Linked DNA regions of Homo sapiens: regions 1 and 2 are each linked to region 3. The links are contacts of gene promoters, found by promoter capture Hi-C in blood cells and fetal thymus (Javierre and others, 2016). All regions are on one chromosome and are shown on one strand. Each heading gives the region's core, a stretch centred on a gene start or on the middle of the fragment in contact. The rest is flanking DNA. Distances are from core to core; before and after follow the strand shown.

Region 1 (3,809 bases), core at 586-3,085, 140 kb before region 3:
CATGCCTGTAGTCACAGCTACTTGGGAGACTGAGGTAGGAGAATCCCTTGAACCTGGGAGGTGGAGGTTGCAGTGAGCTGAGATCACGCCACTGCACTCCAGCCTAAGCCTAGGTGACAGAGTGAGACTCCATCAAAAAAAAAAAAAAAAAAAGAAAAGAAAGGAAAGGGGTTTAATTGGCTCAGAGTTCCACAGGCTGTACAGGAAGCATGATACTAGCATCTGCTTGCCTTCTGGGGAAGCCTCAGGAAGCTTCCAATCATGGCTGAAGGCAAAGGGGGAGCCAGCGCGTCTTACATGGCAGGAGCAGGAGCAAGACAGAGTGGTCGGGTGGTGCCACACACTTTTAAACAACTGGATCTCATGAGAACTCACTCACTATAATGAGAAGAGCACCAAGGGGATGGTGCTAAACCATTCATGAGAAACCACCCCTAGTATAATCATCTCCCACCAGGCCCCACCTCCAACACTGGGGATTACAAATTTGACATGAGATTTAGGTGGGAACACAGATCCAAACCATATCACCAACAATCTTAGTTTTGTATCTCCAGCCACAGTTTCTCTTCTGAACTCCACAGTGAATCAGCTGCCTATGCAGCCCTCATCTGGGATGTCCCACAGTGTGTGCATCTAAACACATCCAGAATCAGCATCCCCCCCAAGGCCTAGGCATCATTCAGGCTTCCCTGTCTTGGTGAAGAACATCACCACCCAACCAGTTGTAGGGACCACCTACCTCCTACAGCCTCCCACTACCAATAAAACAGCAAGTCCAGCAGTGTCTACTACCTAAACCACAAAATCTCTCCAATTTCCCTCTGCCTCCCTAGCCCAAATCCCCATAGCTCTCAATGGACCCCTGCAAAAGTCTCATTAGTTTCCCCAAATCTGCTCTTTCTTTGTACTAATCCATGCTCCTCATTGCAGCTGGAGTGACATTTAAAAAATGCTACTTTCTCCTTTAACTCCTTTGCTGAAAGATTTCCAATATCTCTCCACTTAAAAAAATATATATTATTAAGTTATTGGCCAGGCGCAGTGGCTCACTCCTGTAATCCCAGCACTTTGGGAGGCTGAGGTGGGTGGATCAGGATTCAAGACTAGCCTGGCCAATATGGTGAAACCCCATCTCTACAAAAAACACAAAAATTAGCCAGGCGTAGTGGCACATGCCTGTAATCCCAGCTACCCAGGAGGCTGAGGCAGAAGAATTGCTTCAACCTGGGAGGCGGAGATTGCAGTGAGCAGAGATCACGCCACTGCCTCCTGGGTAACAGAGTGAGACTCCATCTCAAATATATATATATATATATATATATATATATATATAAAATTATAACTAACACTTATGGAAAATTTATATCCTAAGGTCTGTTCTAAGAACTTTACACATATTAACTCATTTAATCCTCATAACTCTAAATATTCCCATTATACAGACAAGGAAACAGAAACTCAGAGAAGCAACTTCAGGGCCTTTGTGTAAGCTCTTACCCATCCTTGGCTTGTTGATCTGGCTGACTGCTATTCAAGCTTCAGATGGGATGCCTTGGGGAGCATTCAAAGATCTCCCTGTCTAGGCCAGTCCCTCCCATAGCATCTAACCCAGTTTTTATTATACAATTATTTAGGGGGTGATTTGGTTCATGTCTGTCACCCCCATAGGCTTTAAATTCCATGTTTTGCTCATAATTATATCTTGAATATTCAACATATAATAAATACTTGATATTTGTTGAATGAATCAATGAAAAGCATTTTCAGTAAGAGAGGGGATGTGGTCAGATTTGTTTTAGAAGGATTTCTCTTGTGTAAAAGTTTGAAGGTGGTGAGACCAAGTCACCAACAGCAGCTGAATTCAGGAGTGACAGGAAGGCAGGCTGGACTAGAGGAGAGGCAAGAGGGATGGAGAGAAGTGGGTGAACCTAGGAAGTATTTAGGAAGCAAACTGGATGGCTCTGATAATTAAGTGGATAGAAGTGAGGAAGAGGAAGGAATCAGGAGGGACTCCCAAGTTTCTGAGAGCACCTTGAACTGGGGTGAGAAAGCATCTGCAAAGGAGGCAGGTTGGGTTGGCAGAGCAGGCTGTCCCTAGACCCAAGCAACTGAAACATGGAAAAGCTTTCAAAAAAATCTTTGCACCCAAACTCCTTAGCTTGGTCCTGGTGTACTTTATTCAGCCCCATCTGTGGTCTACCCCCAAACTCAGAGCATATAGATCACTGCTCCTCCCCCAAGCCCCACTTGTCATCCAGCCCACCTTAGTAAGTGCCACCCCACTACTCTCTCTCCACAAGATGCAGCTTGGAGGACGTCTCCTCTGGGATCCCTCCCCACTGCCCCCACCGCTTCCTGGGGTGAATGAGTCCTCTGTAGCCATCAGGATTCGCTGTATCAGGAGTGTTCCTCTGCTGTCACCTCTGATGACTATTTTCCTCAATTCAGAATCCCCAGCACCTGCAAAAGGCCTGGATAAAGGTAAACCTCAAAAAAGTTTGTTTTATTGAATTTTCCCAAAGGTTTGGCTTTATTACATTAAGAGCTGAGGCCAGGAATGTGGCAGTAAATTCTGGTGCCACCACTTAGAAAGACAAGTCACTTTTTTCAAGCCTCAGTTTCCGTCCATCAAATGGAGATAAGAATACAGTGCACCTACCTCGAAGAGCTGTTTTGAGGGGAAAATGAAATATGCTAGGTTAAGTGTTTAACACAATGCCTGGAACATGGTTAGTTCCCTCAAAAAATTAGCTGTTATTTATTTATTTTTAAATTCTCGCCTTGATGCTCAGAAGGGGCTGAGCAGGAACAGAGGATTGCAGTTCTTAGGATGGCCACGCGAGGGAAGTGGTGAGCAGCCTCCAGGAGGACTTCGGCTCGGCTGTGCCAAGGCACCTGCTGAGGACCCAGATGGCCCGCCTGGGGTTTCCGGGACTTCCCGGCCCCTAAACATGTGGGCGCTGGCCAGAGCGCCGCAGGAGAAGCCTCTGCCAGGTGCTCGGTCTCGACTCTCACAGCCCCAGCCATCCCTCCTGCTCGTCCCCGTCTCGGCTTGGAGGGGCTGGCGGGCAGGAGGGGACAGGGTAGGGGGCAACCAGGATATATCCCCTCCGTTTTGTCATTTGTCTTTCAAACTGACTTATGGCCATTTCTTCTGTATAGAAGCCTTGTAGTCAAACATTTCCATGTTTTCTCTTATGGCTTCTAGGTTTCATCATGCTTAGAAAGTCTTTTCCATCTCCAAGATTATTAAAATATTCACTCATGTCTTTTTTCTGATACATTATGGTGTTAAATATGTGGTCCACCTGGAATTTATTTCAGTGTCGAATAAGGGCACAGCTTTTTGTAATTTCCCCAAAAGACTTGCTGGTTATTCCACCCATTTGATCTCCGCCACCAACCCCCCCCCCCCCGCCCACAACCCCCTACCAACTCCGCCCCCCATTTGTCTGAAGTGCTGTCTTTTATTCATTCATTCATTTAGAGACAAGGTCTTGCTCTGTTGCCCAGGCTGGAGTGCAGTGGCGTGATCACAGCTCACTGCAGCCTTGACCTCCCAGGCTCAGGTAATCCTCCCACTTCAGCCTCCCTGGTAGCTGGGACTACAGGTGTGTGCAATCATGCCCAGATAAATTTTTTTTTTTTTTTTTTTTTTGAGACAGAGTCTTGCTCTGTTACCAGGCTGGAGTGCAGTGGTGCGATCTCAGTTCACTGCAACCTCCGCCTCCTGGGTTCAAGCGATTCTCCTGCCTCAGTCTCCCAAGTAGTTGGGACTACAGGTGCATGCCACCACACCCAGCTAA
Region 2 (3,951 bases), core at 648-3,147, 240 kb before region 3:
GATCAAATGAGACAATGCATATAAAGTGCCCAGCAGGTGCTCAATGGGTAGTAAGCAAGCAAGCACCCCTCCTAATCTAGCACTGATGGCTACGTCAAGAGTTGGCAGCACAAAGTGACATCGAGAATCCTGGAGCACATAATAGATAGTTCCCACACCCATCTCTCTAATGAATGCCTACTCCCTCAACCACCCACTCATCTCAAACTCTGAGGCTCAAACAGAACACATGGACCCTAGGTGCTATGGTTTGGGGTAGAAGTCCTAAGAGTCAGTCTTTCAGCCAGTGAAGGCGGACTGCAAAGTGTCAGACAAAGTGGTAAGTGGCCTCTTTCATTCTTGGAAGGTGGGCTCCAAACCAAACCCGTATCACCCAGATCATCTGACTGGAATATGAAACACCCTGGCGAGCAAGTGGCCTTGGTCCCAGCAGTCCTCATGGCAAACCTATGAAGTACTTTTTCCGAGAGAGGCACTGTGCAGCCCTCTGGGCCAAAGGAGGGGAGGAGAAAAGGGGAGGGACCGGGAGTGGAACAAAGACAACATTTATCACAAGTACTTAAAATCTTATGTGTGGACTGTGAATGGATTTTAGATAAATGTACTGACATGTAGAACTGCATATATAATGACAACTGCTGGGAGCAGCTCGGTAAACTAGAAAGAAGACTGCGGTGTGCATGCACATGTGTTCCTATGGAACATTTGGCCAGCAGTGTCCTCTGTGTACCATTTCCTGGAATCATCACAGCCAGCCTGCAAGACAAGGACTGTCCTCTCAAATGTCCTCACCATGGCCAAAAACAACCCCTGCAGGCCTACCCATGAGGCTATGAGGAACAAGAAAGGGAACAGGTATGACAGGCTTCATGACTATTTTTTACTATTGTTCCTTATTTTGGTCCTTTTCCTTCCAACAGCCTATAAGATGCCTGAGGGCAGGAGCCCATACAAAGTTAGTATTCCAGAAATGTTGCAGAATAAACAAGTGAGCCTGAGACAAATGGAAAATATTCCACATAGATAAGAAGGTTAACTGCTCTGTGGCCAGCAGGATTGCCATTCATATTAGCTGAGATTTCATTTACCTTTACATTTTATTTACATATTATTCATTCAGCTTCATTCAACAAACATTTACTGAGCACCTACTAAGTATTAGGTTGTCATAATTACAACCTGTTGTTACAAAGATTTTCATTGCCTTCAGCTACCACTTTCTTGCTTCTCCCCAGCCTCTCCCATTTTTTGGCTTTAGTTCTGTTCCCAAAACGGACTTTTTTTAATTTTTATTTTTTGAGACAGAGTCTCACTCTGTCGCCCAGGCTGGAGTGCAGTGGCACAATCTCAGCTCACTGCAACCTCCACCTCCTGGGTTCAAGTGATTCTTGTGTCTCAGCCTCCCAAGTAGCTGGGATGACAGGCATGCACCACCACGCCCAGCTAATTTTGTATTTTTAGTGGAAACGGTTTTGCCATGTTGGCCAGGCTGGTCTCAAACTCCCGACCTCATGTGATCACCTGCCTCAGCCTCCCTCCCAAAGTGCTGGGATTACAGGCGTGACCCACTGTGCCCAGCCCCAAACTGACTTCTGAGGAACCAAGAAGCTTCCTTCTCATTTCCTCCCACTCCCATGCCGTTATGTTTTTTGGATCCCAGGGAAGAATCTTATGAGGTTAAAAAGAGGGGCTGGGGGAAGGGTGTGAGTCAGTATCAGCTACGGAAAAGCCGCGTCCTTAGGTAAGCCGGGGAGTGGGCACAGAAACAGCCCTTAATGATCCCAGAGACTATATGGAACTCAGAAGCCTTGCTTTTGGCTCATTCCTCGTATTTTCCCAAATGAGATCTTTGGAGACCTGCTCTACAAACTCAGCTCTGTCACCACTGTCAATAGATACATCACCAGAAATGCAACTGGGCCAGACGGGTCCAGCTCTTAAACGATCGCTGCTTTTTTTGGGTCTGAGGCAAAAGAATCCATTAACAATGCCTCCCCTTGACCAGCACCCCCCATCTTCTGCAAGTAATACCCATGTCCCTCAACACCCCCAAGCCCAGGGAGGCAGCCCCCTCACCATCTGTGACTCATAGCCATCAATATTGTAGGGCACGAGAGGAGAGGAGAAGGGCAATTTTTCTGGTTAGGGATGCAAGAGGAGGTAGGGGTAAAATCTAAGTAAGCTTTCCAAAGAGCACAGGAGGTGCCAGAACACAACAGCCACTTGGGTTTAAAGATGGAAACAGCCTGACGATCAGGCGATCTGTCGAACATTTCCCAGGTCTGATGGGTGTGCACACCTGTAAGGTTTCTTTCAGGCACCTTCGAGGCTTCCCCTGACTTGCATTTCTTTGCCCCTTGAGAACAAGATGGTAAGAGAAAACACTTTGAATCTAATGTTCCAATTACCACCCATGCCTCTTGGGTGCAGAAGGATATGGAGGGTGTGGGGGTGGTGCTTCTGGTTGAAGGATGAGGTGGCAAGACAGCTGTGTGCTGAGCGCTCCTTTCCTGTCAGAAGCCATCTGCTCCTGGTCTCCAACACAGGCCTTGTGTCTCTGGGGCACATACCTGTTGAGCATTGGTGGCAAGTGTCTGGATCTGTCCCTGCACAACTTGAGTGCCTGATACAGGCTGGGCTAAGCGGATATACTGCAGCTGGCCGGCATTCAGCTGCACCTAGGGCAGGGGCAGAGACAAAGAGACCATAAGACATTGAGTATAATCTCAAACAGGCAAACTTTCCATGACCAGAGATGTTGATTGCCCCCTACCCCTCAAGCCCTCCAAAGAAGCCTGCCCTGAAAAAAGTCCCTTTTAAACAGAGGTCAAAACAAGCAAAATCAGAACATCCACATCCCACAAGTCACACAGCACAGAAGAGAATATATTCCCTGAATGGACTTCAGAAAAAACTCCCAGAAGATCCTGTCACAAAGGTGAGAACAGCATGGCTGCATGCTCATTATTTGCCAGCTCTTAGCTACATGATCACAGCTTATCTTAGGAATTTATCTGACTGACATCATCAGAATGCCTGTACATTAAGTGTGGGCCTCTTTCGCTCCCATCTGTAAAGAGATCCAGCATCTGCCAGGATCCCAAAGCAAACAGCCATCATTCCGCATCATAGCCCTCACACTGCCCTGCCCCATGCTGCACATTTTGGAGGCAAAAGCTGGACTGCTTAACCATCTCTGTCCCCAAGAGCCAGGCTGGATGGGGGTCTGTGGGGCTTTTAGGATCTTTGGTGTTCAGCACTAGCTTCTGGCCAAACACCTCCCAAGGGGAAGCAGAATCAATAAACCTTTCATAGAAAACCCCATCATGGGAAACCAAAGCTACGAAAGCGCCCTTAGAGTCTCTCATGCTTACGATTAAATCTCAGATAATACAATAATACCACATGCTGCATTTAATTGTGTGCTAAAAGCCTTAACTCAGGCTCTTAATGCTCCAGTGTACCATGAAAGTATTAGTGTTTTGAGCTGGGGATGAAAAGAGGACCAAGGCGGTTACCACATCAGAGAACTGTAGCTCAGCAAAGATGATGGTCAGCAGAGGAGGACTGCAGACATTCACACCCTCAATTTAGAGGAAATGAAAGGGGTTCTGGGAGCATGGATAGACTAGGTCTCTATCTGCGGGGTCCAGAAACCACCTGCCCTGGCTGCCCAGCCTGCCTTTGTTGCAAGGGGAAGCTTCTTGTGGCTAACAGGCAAGTATTGCCTCTGCTCTGGAGCAAATTTCCCTCTGGCCTTCAAGAGCTAACTTCACTGCAGGACTCTTCCATGAGGAAAATGCTAATGGGATGAAGCTGCATTCCTGCACGCAGTGTTCAATCAAAATGCTTCTCTGAGACTTCCAGCCTCACAGAATTTGAACTACCGAGAAAAAACGACCTCTCAAGTTCACGGTAGACCATTCCAGAATTGCCCACTTGAGGCAAGAT
Region 3 (3,749 bases), core at 30-2,529:
ATATGTTTCTGTCCTACTGATCTAGCACCAAGTGGTTCCTCTTGAAACAGTTATTTTTTTTCCTCCCAGAAATTTATCCTGAAGAAATAATGAATGAGTTGACTCACTTAAAAGCTTGGTCTCTGAAGCTCCGTAAGTCTAAAAATGATTCCTTCCTGTGATTCTCTGGTTTCTACTCTGACGCTGGGATAAGAGATTGCAAATTAGGTTGGGCTTTCTTGAGAAGGCTGGATTCAGGGACCCAGGAACACTTTTTTTTATTTTTTTTTTGTTAAGCTGGATCCTTCAGTTTAAACTCCAAATGTTTCTCTCTGTAGAAACTCGCCATCTCCTATGAGCTTAGAACTGCTGGGGCTCTAGAAAGGGTATAATGGGCAAACCGGGGACTCACATCTTCATTTACACAGTCTGCACTGGAAGATCTGCAGATACACCAAGAGACTCTACAAAATGACTACAAATCGAAATTTACTCAGCATTCATTGCTCAAACATTTCAGGAGAATAAACCCAACTCTGTTTTATGCAGGAATGCTATACTGTAAAAAAAAAAAAAAAGAAATTTGGAGAAAATGTATCTGAGTTTGAATCTCAGTTCTTCCACTTACTAAGCTGTGTGAGTCCAGGCAAGTAATTTCACCTTTCAGCTTCAGTTAACTCATATGCAAAATGGTAATAGCATTTACTTCAAATGATTGCTGAGAATACCCTTCTAATCCATAGCAGTTTCTCAAGAATGCTTTCTTCCTGGATCCCTTGAAATAGCTTACAGTTTCCACTGGATCCCTTGACACGGCTTAAAATTGTCGCAGGCTCCAGTCGGGCCAACTATGCTCTTGGAACCAGGAAAGGTACAGTTAGATGAACAGACTCCTACATAGTGACCTTGACCTACAAGAGCAGGAATGCAAATTGAGCCTCTCCCAGTCCCACCAGAGCCCTGGACATCTACCCAGTGCCAGTCGGAGCCCAACTCTTGCTTTCTCTCAGCTACTCGAGTTGAACAGGACCCACATATCCAAACCTGAAGTCACTGCGCTTGGAGACTAAAGTTTTATCTTCGGTAGGGTAAACCTAGAAGCCAGTCCCCGCCTTTCTCTTACGTCCTCCGAGTCCAGCAAAGCCATACCTGCCACCCTTTCACTGCCTCGCTCGCAGCTCCGGCTCCAAGCCTGGGATCAGTCACAGCGTCGTCCAGAGACAGGGGAGCAACACCCGCCCGCACTTCCCGCGGCGCTGATTTGAAGATTGAATACCGGCTACCGTCCTACTACGCGTGTGCGGAAGTAACTGTCCACCTAGAGTTCCTGGACTCCTCCCGGGTGTAGGCCATCCGTCGGAGACCACATTTCCCATAAGGCCAGTGGAGCTCGTTTCCGGAAGACGTCAGACGCTGCTTCCTCTTGGGGGGTGGTGCGGAGATTCCCGGGTTGGTATCTCTATTGCTAGCCTGAGAGCCACGCTTTTTAAGTCGTTTTCATTTAAAAGGATACACAGCATTTTTAAATACTGGAAAGTAAAATCGGCGGTATGCTAAAAACAATTTGCTCTTACTCAGCAGGGTTTCTTCTAGCAATGCACCAGGTTAAGTCGGAGAGGTGAAGAGGATCCAACAAAGAAGACTGAGAAGGAATAATCCATGAAGTAGATGGAAAAGTAGGAGAGTTTAGATCTGCAAAACCAAGGGAAGGAAGTGTTTCAAGAAGGGAGTGACCCATTGTCTCAAATGTTGCTCATAGGTCAAGTAAAATGAGAATTAAGAATGGGCCACTGTAGCAATGGTCACCAGTGATGTTGAAACGCCATTTTGGCAGTGGTGGAAGTTTGATAAAGTCTGATGAAAATTTGATAGGAGTTGGAGGGAAGGATGGGAGGAGAGGAAATGGAGAAAGCAAATATACGCAATACTTTTAAGAAGTTTTGTTTTTAAGGTGAGCAGAAAAATAAGGCTATCATGGGATAGGGATTTTGTTAATCTTTTGTTGTTGCGTTTTTCCACGTTCTAATTTTTTTTTTTTTTTTAATTCAAAGATGGGGCTGAGTGTGGTGGCTTATGCCTGTAATCCTAACATTTCAGGAGGCCAAAGTGGGAGGATTGGTTGAGCCCAGGAGTCTGAAACTGCCTAGGCAACATAGTGAGACCCTCATCTCTACAAAAAATAAAAAACTAGCCTGGCATGGCACCCGCCTGAAGTCCCAACTACTTGAGAGGCTGAGATGGGAGGATCGCTTGAGCCCAGACAGTAGAGACTGCAGTGAGCCGTGATCCCGCCACTGCACTGCAGCATGGGCGACAGAGCTAGTCTCTGTCTCAAAAAAATAAAATAAAAAAGATGGAAGAAATTATAGTAAGTTTATGTACTAATTAAAAGGATCTAGGCTGGGCGCAGTGGCTCACGCCTGTAATCCCAGCACTTTGGGAAGCTTAGGTGGGCAGATCACCTGAGGTCAGGAGTTGGAGACCAGCCTGGCCAACGTGGTGAAACCCCGTCTCTACTAAAAATACAAAAATTAGCCGGGCGTGGTGGCAGACGCCTGTAAACCCAGCTACCTGGGAGGCTGAGGCGGGAGAATCACTTGAACCCGGGAGGCAGAGGTTGCAGTGAGCCGAGATCACACCACTGCACTCCAGCCTGGGCGACAGAGCGAGGCTCTGTCTCAAATAAATGAATTAGTTAATAAAATAAAACAAAAGATCCAGTAGAGGCGGGAAATACACAATTCAGGATAGACAGGCTAGTTACTCGGAGGAATGTCCTTGAGAAGAGAAGGGATGGAATCCAGTACACAATCACAGGGATCATTCTAAGTAAGAGTATGGATAATTCATCTCCATTGAAATAAAAGGGGAGGCAGAGTTTATAAGTACAGATCCAAACAGGTGGACAAATATGGTGGTAGGAGAAAGAGGATGCCCTGTTCTGAGTGCTTCTATTTTCCCAGTGAAATAGGAAGCTGAAATGAAGATAGGGGGAAAGTATTTTAGACTTGACAGAAAAGATGAATACCGTATTATGATGATTTTGAAACATGATTTTTTCATATTTTAACATCTGTGAAATTGCTGTCTTACAAGTGATGGCATTCCATAGTTTAATCAGGAGCATTGTTTTTTATTAGTATATAAAATAATAATACAACTTATAATCAATGGCATCTGAGATTCGATAAAGTATGATTTATGAATGTGAGCAAGTGAATAGATTAAGGAAATGTAGTACTATTGCCTGGCACCATTAAGAACTGGCTTGATATTAGTAGCCATTATCGCTTCTCAGCCTTTTGGCTAAGATCAAGTGATATTAGTACCCACTGACTTTACTAGCATTTTCTATGCAATAAACACATCTCTCTCTCTCTGCCTCCCCTCCCGTCCCCTCCCCTCCCCTCTCCTCTCCTCTCTCTCAACAGAAAGGACATATATTAAAGACATGGGTAGTAGAATAAATTCATTACATCTTAATATCTAAAGTATTTTGGACCAAATTACTTATGTATTTTTATTAGAAACAGTATGTATTTTGTGCAACCCAAAAATTAGGCATTTAATTTTACAAAACATTTCATTATGGTAATTTTAAACTATGCAATAGTAGAAAGAATAGTGGTGAACTTCCATGTATCCATCCCCCAACTCCAATAATTATCAACTCAGGGCCAATTCTGTTTCATCTCTACCCCCAACCCCATTGCATAGTATTTTGAAGCAAATCCCAGAGCATATAATTTCACCAATAAAAATAAAGACTT

The links. The method cuts DNA at HindIII sites, captures the fragments that hold promoters and counts their contacts. A CHiCAGO score of 5 or more calls a contact.
Region 1: a fragment that was not itself captured here is called in contact with the fragment with the promoter of ZNF684 in region 3 in 2 of 17 cell types (endothelial precursors and M2 macrophages); the score reaches 5.1 in endothelial precursors.
Region 2: a fragment that was not itself captured here is called in contact with the fragment with the promoter of ZNF684 in region 3 in 1 of 17 cell types (megakaryocytes); the score reaches 5.0 in megakaryocytes.

What each region holds. Positions count from the first base shown.
Region 1 is chr1:40,668,102-40,671,910 of GRCh38, reverse strand. It overlaps a transcript of RIMS3 not described here. Among named protein-coding and RNA genes, the nearest start is that of RIMS3, 4.3 kb to the right of the region's middle. RefSeq lists enhancers at 2,741-2,790, 2,851-3,000. The HindIII fragment of the contact is 588 bases long and covers 1,542-2,129 here.
Region 2 is chr1:40,765,323-40,769,273 of GRCh38, reverse strand. It overlaps NFYC (nuclear transcription factor Y subunit gamma), which reads right to left. Exons shown (of 10, transcript NM_014223.5): 8 at 2,571-2,678. Among named protein-coding and RNA genes, the nearest start is that of MIR30C1, 10 kb to the right of the region's middle. The HindIII fragment of the contact is 574 bases long and covers 1,611-2,184 here.
Region 3 is chr1:40,529,167-40,532,915 of GRCh38, reverse strand. ZNF684 (zinc finger protein 684) reads right to left here and starts at 1,279. Exons shown (of 5, transcript NM_152373.4): 1 at 1,129-1,279. LOC124904149 (a long non-coding RNA gene) reads left to right here and starts at 1,370. Exons shown (of 2, transcript XR_007066022.1): 1 at 1,370-1,428; 2 at 1,561-2,338. RefSeq lists an enhancer at 1,185-1,479. The HindIII fragment of the contact is 2,309 bases long and covers 117-2,425 here.